Regions from separate parts of the Homo sapiens genome. Here all the other regions are linked to region 3. Evidence: promoter capture Hi-C in 16 types of primary human blood cells and fetal thymus (Javierre and others, 2016). All regions are on one chromosome and are shown on one strand. The core of a region is centred on a gene start or on the middle of the fragment in contact, and the rest is flanking DNA. Distances in the headings are between cores, read along the strand shown.

Region 1 (2,700 bases), core at 122-2,621, 300 kb after region 3:
CCCAGGTTCACGCCATTCTCCTGTCTCAGCCTCCCAAGTAGCTGGGACTACAGGCGCCCGCCACCACGCCCAGCTAATTTTTTTTGTATTTTTAGTAGAGACGGGGTTTCACCATGTTAACTAGGATGGTCTCGATCTCCTGACCTCGTGATCCACCTGCCTCAGTCTCCCAGAGTGCTGGGATTACAGGCATGAGCCACCGCGCCCGGCCTCAAGTATTCAATATTCCTATGTGGCTATGAGATACTGCATGGCCCAGTATAGGTGTAAGAGATGGAAAACATTGGGGGAAGAAAGAGATTCTGAGCAGGAACACAGGAAAATTGTGTGGGAAAATAAAATGAGGAATTACCTGAGAAAATAGTGCTGGCCAGGACCAAAAAAAACAAAAACAAAAACAAAACCAGCTGGGTGGTTGGGAGGGAGAGTGGGGAGGGATGGGACTCAGGATACTTTTTTTTTTTTTTTAATTTATATGAGACAGGGTTTCGCCATGTTGGCCAGGCTGGTCTTGAACTCCTGACCTCAGGTGATCTGCCCACCTTGGCCTCCCAAAGTGCTGGGACTGCAGGCATGAGCCACCGAGCCCAGCCAGGATACATTTCATTCTGTGTTCCATTGGTCAATATTATCAAATAGATGATATGGGGTTAAATTCACATCGATAGCAGCCTCATTGGGGAAATAAAATCATAACTTGGTAGCCTGAAAGCAATGTATAAGGATAAGCAGCTTTCCTGTCACCTTGGTGACAGTCAGGAAGTAGAATGGAAACCTCAGGTTTGATGGCTCGGAGCCTCTTTGTTCCGTTATCCTCCTGTCAGTCTATGAGAGACTTTCTCCCCTCTGGATCATTGCAGTAGCTTCCATGGTTTCAGTGTTGTCGTTAAGTGAAAAAAAAAAAATCATCCTAATACAACGAAAAGAGAAAAGATAGGTGGAAAATAACAAGTCCAGTGATAAAGCGGGCTCTGTCTTCAGGACCGAAGTGTGGGGAGGTGTAGGACAAAAGTGAAGTTAGGGCCGAGCCACGTGGAATGGCTAATGCTGGGCAGGCGTCCAAGGAACCGACCTTGGAGCCCTGCAGGAGCGTGGGATGAGAGCCTGCTTGCAAACAAGATCACCGAGTTCTGTTTCAAGTGAGAGTGGACGGGAAGGGGGAGTTAGAAGAGGAGATTTCTCCTCTAGAGGGTTCAATGTCAGAAGGGCTCAGGGTGGTTTAGGATGAAATTATTTCCACTGAATTTTAAATTGAGCTGTAATTAAAAAACACTTATGAGGATAGATTTTCGCTGACTTTCTGTTACAAAGATTATAAGAAAATAAAATTTGGAGATCTTCAAGAAATGGCAGACAGTTATCTATGGTGAGGAACAATTTCTATGCTGTCAGACTCCTCCCATCCACCTGCGTGGTTCTCAGCCAGACCTCCAACTGCAGGAGGAGCCACCAGGACCCGTTGGCAGCATCCTGCATTTGTCAAGCTAGTGGATGCTGGGTGAGGTATTGACCCGGACTCTGAACTGTGAAAGGAACCTCTCCTCATGAAGGGATGCAGAGATGCTCTGGAAGTTGGTCCAAGGTGAAATTACTGTAACTTCTGTGCAGTTGATTCTTTTCTTTTCTTCTTTAGTTAATAGGGAAAGGAAGTTTGGTGATGGAGGGGCAGAAACACCTGAACTCTAAGAAGAAAGGTGAGTGTACATGCTTTTCCCGGAAGCAAACAGGATATTTTTAAATTCCAGAAAACAATTCTTGGCCAGGCGCGGTGGCTCATGCCTGTAATCCCAGCACTTTGGGAGGCCGAGGTGGGCGGATCACGATGTCGGGAGATCGAGACCATCTTGGCTAACATGGTGAAACCCCGTCTCTACTAAAAATACAAAAAAAAATTAGCCGGACGTCGGGGCGGGCCCCTGTAGTCCCAGCTACTCGGGAGGCTGAGGCAGGAGAATGGCGTGAACCCGGGAGGCGGAGCTTGCAGTGAGCCGAGATCATGCCACTGCGCTCCAGCCTGGGCGACAGAGCGAGACTCCGTCTCAAAAAAAAAAAAAAATAAATAAAATAAAATAAAATAAAATAAAAAAATTCTTATCCACAGAAGTAATGGAATTGGAGCACTAACAGTTATCACAGGAGAAGAGAAAAATGAGAAGTAACTTGCACCATGGTGCCTGCACTGGCTCAGTGAAAAGTACATATGGTTAGATGCCGTTGGCAGGTGAATGTGCATTCTGATTTTCCTGTATATTCCCTCTTCTCTTTCAGGACTGAAAGCCTCCTTCTCTCTCTCACTGACCTTCACTTCGAGACTGGCCCCTGATCCTTCCCTGGTGATCTATGCCATTTTTCCCAGTGGAGGTGTTGTAGCTGACAAAATTCAGTTCTCAGTCGAGATGTGCTTTGACAATCAGGTAAAATGATAGCGGAGAAGGGTGAAGATAAAAGTTGGGCATAGAGAAAGATCTTGTGTGTGCTGCGGTTGGAAACAAGACAAGTCAGGGAAAGAAGATAGTGTTGACGTTGGATGTTGTATTATATTTATATCTTTAGTGTTTGGGGTTTGTGTTGAAATCCATCTCTCTCCTACTTTTTATTTTAAGAAGTCATGCTGGCTGAGGTGCAGTGGCTCACTCCTGTAATCCCAGTGCTTTGGGAGGCCAAGGCAGAGGGATTTCTTTAGGTCAAGGGTTCAAGACC
Region 2 (2,700 bases), core at 144-2,643, 280 kb after region 3:
TCAAACTCTTGGGCTCAAGCAATCCTCCAGCTTCTGACTCCCAAAAGCTGGGATTATAGGCATGAGCCACTGCACTTAGACTAATTTATATTTTAGGTGACTTCTAAGTATTACCATCATAAAGAACACTGTGGGCTGGGCACGGTGGCTCATACCTGTAATCCCAGCACTTTGGGAGGCTGAGGTGGTCCCTGGAGCTCAGGAGTTCGAGACTAGCCTGGGCAACATGGTGAAACCCTGTCTCTATTAAAAATACAAAACAATTAGCCAGGAGTGTTGGTGCCTACCTGTGGTCCCAGCTACTCAGGAGGTGGAGGTGGGAGGATCGCTTGAGCCCAGGAGGTCAAAGCTGCAGTGGGCTGAGATTGTGCCACTGCACTCCAGCCTGGGTGATAAAGTGAGACTCTACTTCAAAAAAATAAAAAATAAAGAAAAGAAAAAAAAGAAAGAACAGTGTGAAAAAACTCAGTGTTACACTTGTGCATACATGCATGCTGTCCTTTTTTTCCTCATTAAGAAACATTTCCAGAGTAGGAGTTGCTGAGTGAAAGAATATGCAAATCTCAAAGGCTTTGGTGTGTATTACAAAATTGCCATGAGAAAGTTATCCACATTCTATTTTCTCTAGGACTGTGTGTGTCCCTATTTCCATACAGTCACAACAATACTGAGTAGTATTAATTTTTTTTTTTTTTGAGACAGAGTCTCGTTGTGTCACCCACGCTGGAGTAAAGTGGCATGATCTCGGCTCACTGCAACCTCCACCTCCCGGGTTCAAGCGATTCTCCTGCCTCAGCCTCCCAAGTAGCTGGGACTATAGGCACCCACCACTATGCCCAGCTGATTTTTTTTTCTTTGTATTTTTAGTAGAGACAGGGTTTCACTATGTTGGCCAGGCTGGTCTTGAACTCCTGACCTGGTGATCTGCCCACCTCAACCCCCCAAAGTGCTGGGATTACAGGCGTGAGCCACTGTGACCGGCCAAGTTTACTGCTTTTCTATTGAAACTGTTCTCATACCCGTGTTCCCAACTACACCTTAATTGAATAATAAAAGAAAATAAGGACATTAAATGAGAACAGGAATTGGAATGAGACCAGAAAAAAAGGGAGGAGTTCAAAATATGTTCTGAGAGCTTTACCATTATGAATACTCAGCTCTGGTTTTCCCCCAAAACTGGCTGAACCAGTATGGATGTTCCAGGCAGAAACAACTTTAAAGAAGTGAATAGTGGCCCTACCCTGGTCCACCACCTAACCTGGTGGTTACAGAAGGAGGAACACAGTCCTCCTGTGTTCCAGGTGCCAGGAGGTGACTGACTATAGCATCAGTCATCACTGCACACCCTACCTGGAATTAGTATATAAAGCTACGCGGAGCGATCTCTGCCCCTGACCCTGGAAAAATCTGTCTCACCCACAAAGATGTGGGCTCAGCTCCTTCTAGGAATGTTGGCCCTATCACCAGCCATTGCAGAAGAACTTCCGTGAGTGCTTGGTGTCAGAATTGGTTTATTAGGGCAGCGGCTTCTTCGCCTAACTTTCTCAAACATTTATATGGAGATGGGGAGATCAACTTTGGTTTATCTTAATTTCCTCCTCCTTTTTTCTCTTCTTTGGTTCCACTGATCCTTTACCCAGAGAGGGAGGCTGACGCATGAAGAGGAAGCTTTAAAAAAGATAAATATTAAAATGTGCCCTGTTTTCTGAAATAGGCCTAATTTCCTCCTTGGTGCTCTAGGCATGTGTGCTCGGTGAGGGCCTCCTGATGGCGGAAGTTGAAGACTGTGCACTGAGTCGTTGCCCCTCTGCTTCTTGTAGAAAATGAGGTGCATAAGGAAGGCAGGGGCTTGGTCTGTCTAATTCACTGCTACTTGCTGAGCGCTTAGGAGAGTGCTGGATTTTTCGAGTGAATGAATCATTATTGCCCTGAAATCCTTCTGCTCCTTTAATAGAAACTACCTGGTGACATTACCAGCCCGGCTAAATTTCCCCTCCGTTCAGAAGGTTTGTTTGGACCTGAGCCCTGGGTACAGTGATGTTAAATTCACGGTTACTCTGGAGACCAAGGACAAGACCCAGAAGTTGCTAGAATACTCTGGACTGAAGAAGAGGCACTTACATTGTATCTCCTTTCTTGTAAGCACAGACTCAGCCCTCACTCGAATCCCTTACTTGCCTATTCTCCTCCCTAGGCTCACTATAATCTACTTTAAGTATAATTTCTGTTATCTTTTGCCACGGCCTCTAAACCTATTTTTTCTCAACTTAACCTCAATCCCCGGCTATAACTCACCCACGGTTTCCTCGACCTAGGATTTCTCCCTTTAGTTCCTGACCTTAATTCTTCCTCGTGGTAATTTGTTTTATGTCTCTATCCTTGCTACCCCCATCTAACTCAGCTCTTTCCTTTAACTCACTGTTGGGTTGAGACCAGTTGATTCTGTTCCCCCAATCCCTTACCCCTCCCCAGAAGTCCCCTTTCTTGGTCAGGTACCACCTCCTGCTGGTGGCACAGAAGAAGTGGCCACAATCCGGGTGTCGGGAGTTGGAAATAACATCAGCTTTGAGGAGAAGAAAAAGGTTCTAATTCAGAGGCAGGGGAACGGCACCTTTGTACAGACTGACAAACCTCTCTACACCCCAGGGCAGCAAGGTAAGAGTCACATATTTGGGGTTCGACTAAAACCTGGGGAAACCG
Region 3 (3,082 bases), core at 319-2,818:
TCTTATTTCGGTTAAAAATGTCAGTTCCCTCAGTTTTGTATTTATAACAAAAGTGCCAATAATTATCATGTTTTTTCTTACAATCTGCTTTTTCTTACGACCCAGAGAAAATAGATATGTTTGCACTACCTCTTATGCCAAGTCCAACTCTCTCTACCCTTCCTTCCAAAAGTAATTAGTCATATCTCTGGTGCCGACCAGTAGTTCAAGCTCTAAGGCAGACTCTCCTAGAGAAGGTTACACTAATGATAGAGGCTGAAAGAGGAGGATTCAGGACTGCCAAGGAAGTGAAAAATGTCTATCATGAAAAGTAAGTCACAGGTGATTAAAATTCAGAAACAGTTCCCTGCTTGTTGAGGTTTCTGGTTTGAGAAATAACCTAGAGATTAATAGGGAAAAAAAAAAGGGTGAAATAGAAAGACCCTTTGAGGGCAAAGAGAGTCTACAGGCAGCATGGAAGAGTTTTCTCCTAATATGCACCAGGAAGAATTAAATTGAATTTGACCTTCAGAACCCACCAACACATCTGGTGATGAAACAGGCACTGAGAAATAGGATGGGGATCCCAGCAACAGTCCATAAGAACATTTGGGAAGAGAAGCATCCTCTCTCTGTAGAAAGAAAGACACAAACATGATCAATCTTCCCTAAGCAAGGTACAAAAGAGATAGAAGAGATTCTTATTCATCCTTACTTATTTCCTTCTACTTCCATTGTTTGTACTGAGTAATTCCCAAATTTCAGCATGCTTCAGAATCACTTGGAGGGTTTATGGAAACACAGATTGCTGACCCTTACCCCCAGAGTTAGCAACTCAGTAGAGTTTGTATGGAACCAACAAGTTCCCAGGGGCTACTGCTGCTGCTGGTCTGAGGACCACACGTTTAGCACCCCTGGAGTAAGACTCTGACTCATGAACTCAGATATACAATTTTTCCTTTCTAAGTCTCTCAGTTAAATTTTTTTCAGTATTTTCTAAGGCCCCCCTTCTTTCTTTTTCTTTCTTTTCCCTTTTCTCGTCTTTGCTTTTCTTGTCCTTCTCCTGATCTTTTTTTTTTTTCTGTGTCTCACTTTTCAAGCGCTTTGTAAATTAGGTAAAATGTTAACAGTCATCTAATAGTTCCTCTCTTCCTCCCATTAAACATTTTACAGACAAAGAGAGTTCCAGAGAAGTGAAGTGACTTGCCAAAAGGGACACAATGTATTGCAGAAAGGGTGGAAACTGATAGCTCTCCCTTAGCTAGAGGCCAGCAGGCTTTCTGGTATAAGAAATAGTCTTTAAATCTCTCTCTCTCTCTTCCTCTGTCCCCCCACTTTTTTTTTTAACTTCAGTGAATACTTTTCTATTGTCCTGTCTTTCACCATATTTATCACTTGTTCCAAAAAGAGATCTATGGAAGGAAAGGAAGAGTTGCAGATTTTACCTGTGCATTGTGTTTCAGATGATTTAGATGAATTCATTTTTTCTCTCTCTTTGGTTTTTTGTTTCTCTCTCTCTCTTTTTCTCTCCCTCCCTCTCTTTCTTTCTCCTCAGGAGTGTTTTGTTGGTAAGATTCAGGGAGAATGAATCTTGAAAGATAAACACTTTGTCTTTTAGGAAGTTCAGCTCCGATAGATGTAGAATATTAACTTGTTCTGTGGCTACGCATTAAGTCAGGATTTCCTTTCTTGCATAAGGAGGACAAGGAAGTTTATTGGACAGCATGTCAGTTCTCTTCACTCCATGTAACAACAAAATGAGGAAATTATGAAATGGTAAGCATCAACACAAATAGGCTAGCCATGGGGAAACAGGAGAGTTTTTTTTTTAAATGTTGTTTCGTTTCGTTGGACCAAATGTCTCTAGTTTCTTCAAGGCATAACTCATCCCCCAGTTTTTCCTTGACAATATGGAGCTCACCTCTGCACTCTGAATTTCACTTTGGATCTGTACCATCCACACATTTGGTAACTGAAAAGAAGACTTAGACAACATAGCACAAAGCTGGGCATATAGTGTATGTATTTAGGACATGGCAACCTGAATTTTTTCATCTTTTTTTTTTTTTTTTTTTTTGAGACAGAGTCTCGCTCTGTCGTCCAGGCTGGAGTGCAGTGGCATGATCTCCGCTCACTGCAAGCTCCGCCTCCCGGGTTCAAGCCATTCTCCTGCCTCAGCCTCCCGAGTAGCTGGGACTACAGGCGCTCGCCACCACGCCTGGCTAATTTTTTGTATTTTTAGCAGAGACGGGGTTTCACTGTGGTCGTCAGGATGGTTTCAATTTCCTGACCTCGTGATCCGCCCGCCTCAGCCTCCCAAAGTCCTGAGATTACAGGCGTGAGCCACCGCGCCCGTCCTCTTTTTCATCTTTTATGGTTTTTCTTTCTTCTTCATTTGCAGCTCTTGAATATTCTAATGTTGTGGATTTATGTCCCTCTTATCTTATGCTGACTACTAGGCTGCTACTACTAGGCTGACTACTAGAGTCCCCCTCAGCAGGACAGCCTCATGTGATTAGACCACTTTGAAACTCAGCTTAGTTTTTCACAACATAACGCAGCTTCTGAAGTCTCAGAGACCCAGCAGGCAGTTTAATTCTCCTGTTCTCAATTATTTGGGGATTTTAGTTCTATGTTACAGCCTACAGTAGGAGAAATGTATTTGAAGGTCAGAAAAAGCAATTTCAATTAGATATTAGAATTTAATGGTTCTCTGGGCCGGGAGCAGTGGCTCATGCCTGTAATTCCAACACTTTGGGAGGCCAAGGTGGGTGGATCATTTGAGGTCAGGAGTTTGAGACCAGCCTGGCCAACATGGTGAAACCCCACCTCTACTAAAAATACAAAAATTAGCCAAGTGTGGTGGCACGCATCTGTAATTCCAGATACTTGAGAGGCTGAGACAGGAGAATAGCTTGATCCTGGGAGGCAGAGGTTGCAGTGAGCCAAAATTGCACCACTGCACTCCAGCCTGGGCGATAGAGTGAGACTCTGTCTCAAAAAAAAAAAAAAAAAAGAATTAATGCTTCTCTGGAAGAATAGTTAGATATGTGCCTTCTCCTTACTTAAAGATACTTAAGAATAAGATCACACTGGTCTCAGT

The links. Contacts are between HindIII fragments. The CHiCAGO score rates a contact against its expected background, and 5 or more counts as called.
Region 1: a fragment that was not itself captured here is called in contact with the fragment with the promoter of CLEC4E in region 3 in 4 of 17 cell types (naive CD8 T cells, endothelial precursors, non-activated CD4 T cells and 1 more); the score reaches 6.8 in naive CD8 T cells.
Region 2: a contact is called between the fragment with the promoter of A2ML1 here and the fragment with the promoter of CLEC4E in region 3, in 6 of 17 cell types (M2 macrophages, endothelial precursors, naive CD8 T cells and 3 more). The highest score is 6.5, in M2 macrophages.

Annotation. Positions count from the first base shown.
Region 1 is chr12:8,843,809-8,846,508 of GRCh38, forward strand. A2ML1 (alpha-2-macroglobulin like 1) reads left to right here. Exons shown (of 36, transcript NM_144670.6): 13 at 1,634-1,694; 14 at 2,269-2,414. Among named protein-coding and RNA genes, the nearest start is that of A2ML1-AS1, 14 kb to the left of the region's middle. The HindIII fragment of the contact is 7,718 bases long and covers 1-2,700 here.
Region 2 is chr12:8,821,228-8,823,927 of GRCh38, forward strand. It overlaps A2ML1 (alpha-2-macroglobulin like 1), which reads left to right and starts at 1,394. Exons shown (of 36, transcript NM_144670.6): 1 at 1,394-1,486; 2 at 1,955-2,138; 3 at 2,493-2,655. The coding sequence starts at 1,425. The region is part of intron 1 of A2ML1-AS1 (A2ML1 antisense RNA 1); the gene reads right to left. The HindIII fragment of the contact is 3,171 bases long and covers 1-1,666 here.
Region 3 is chr12:8,539,337-8,542,418 of GRCh38, forward strand. CLEC4E (C-type lectin domain family 4 member E) reads right to left here and starts at 1,569. Exons shown (of 6, transcript NM_014358.4): 1 at 1,425-1,569; 2 at 519-611. The coding sequence starts at 1,461. The HindIII fragment of the contact is 5,761 bases long and covers 1-3,082 here.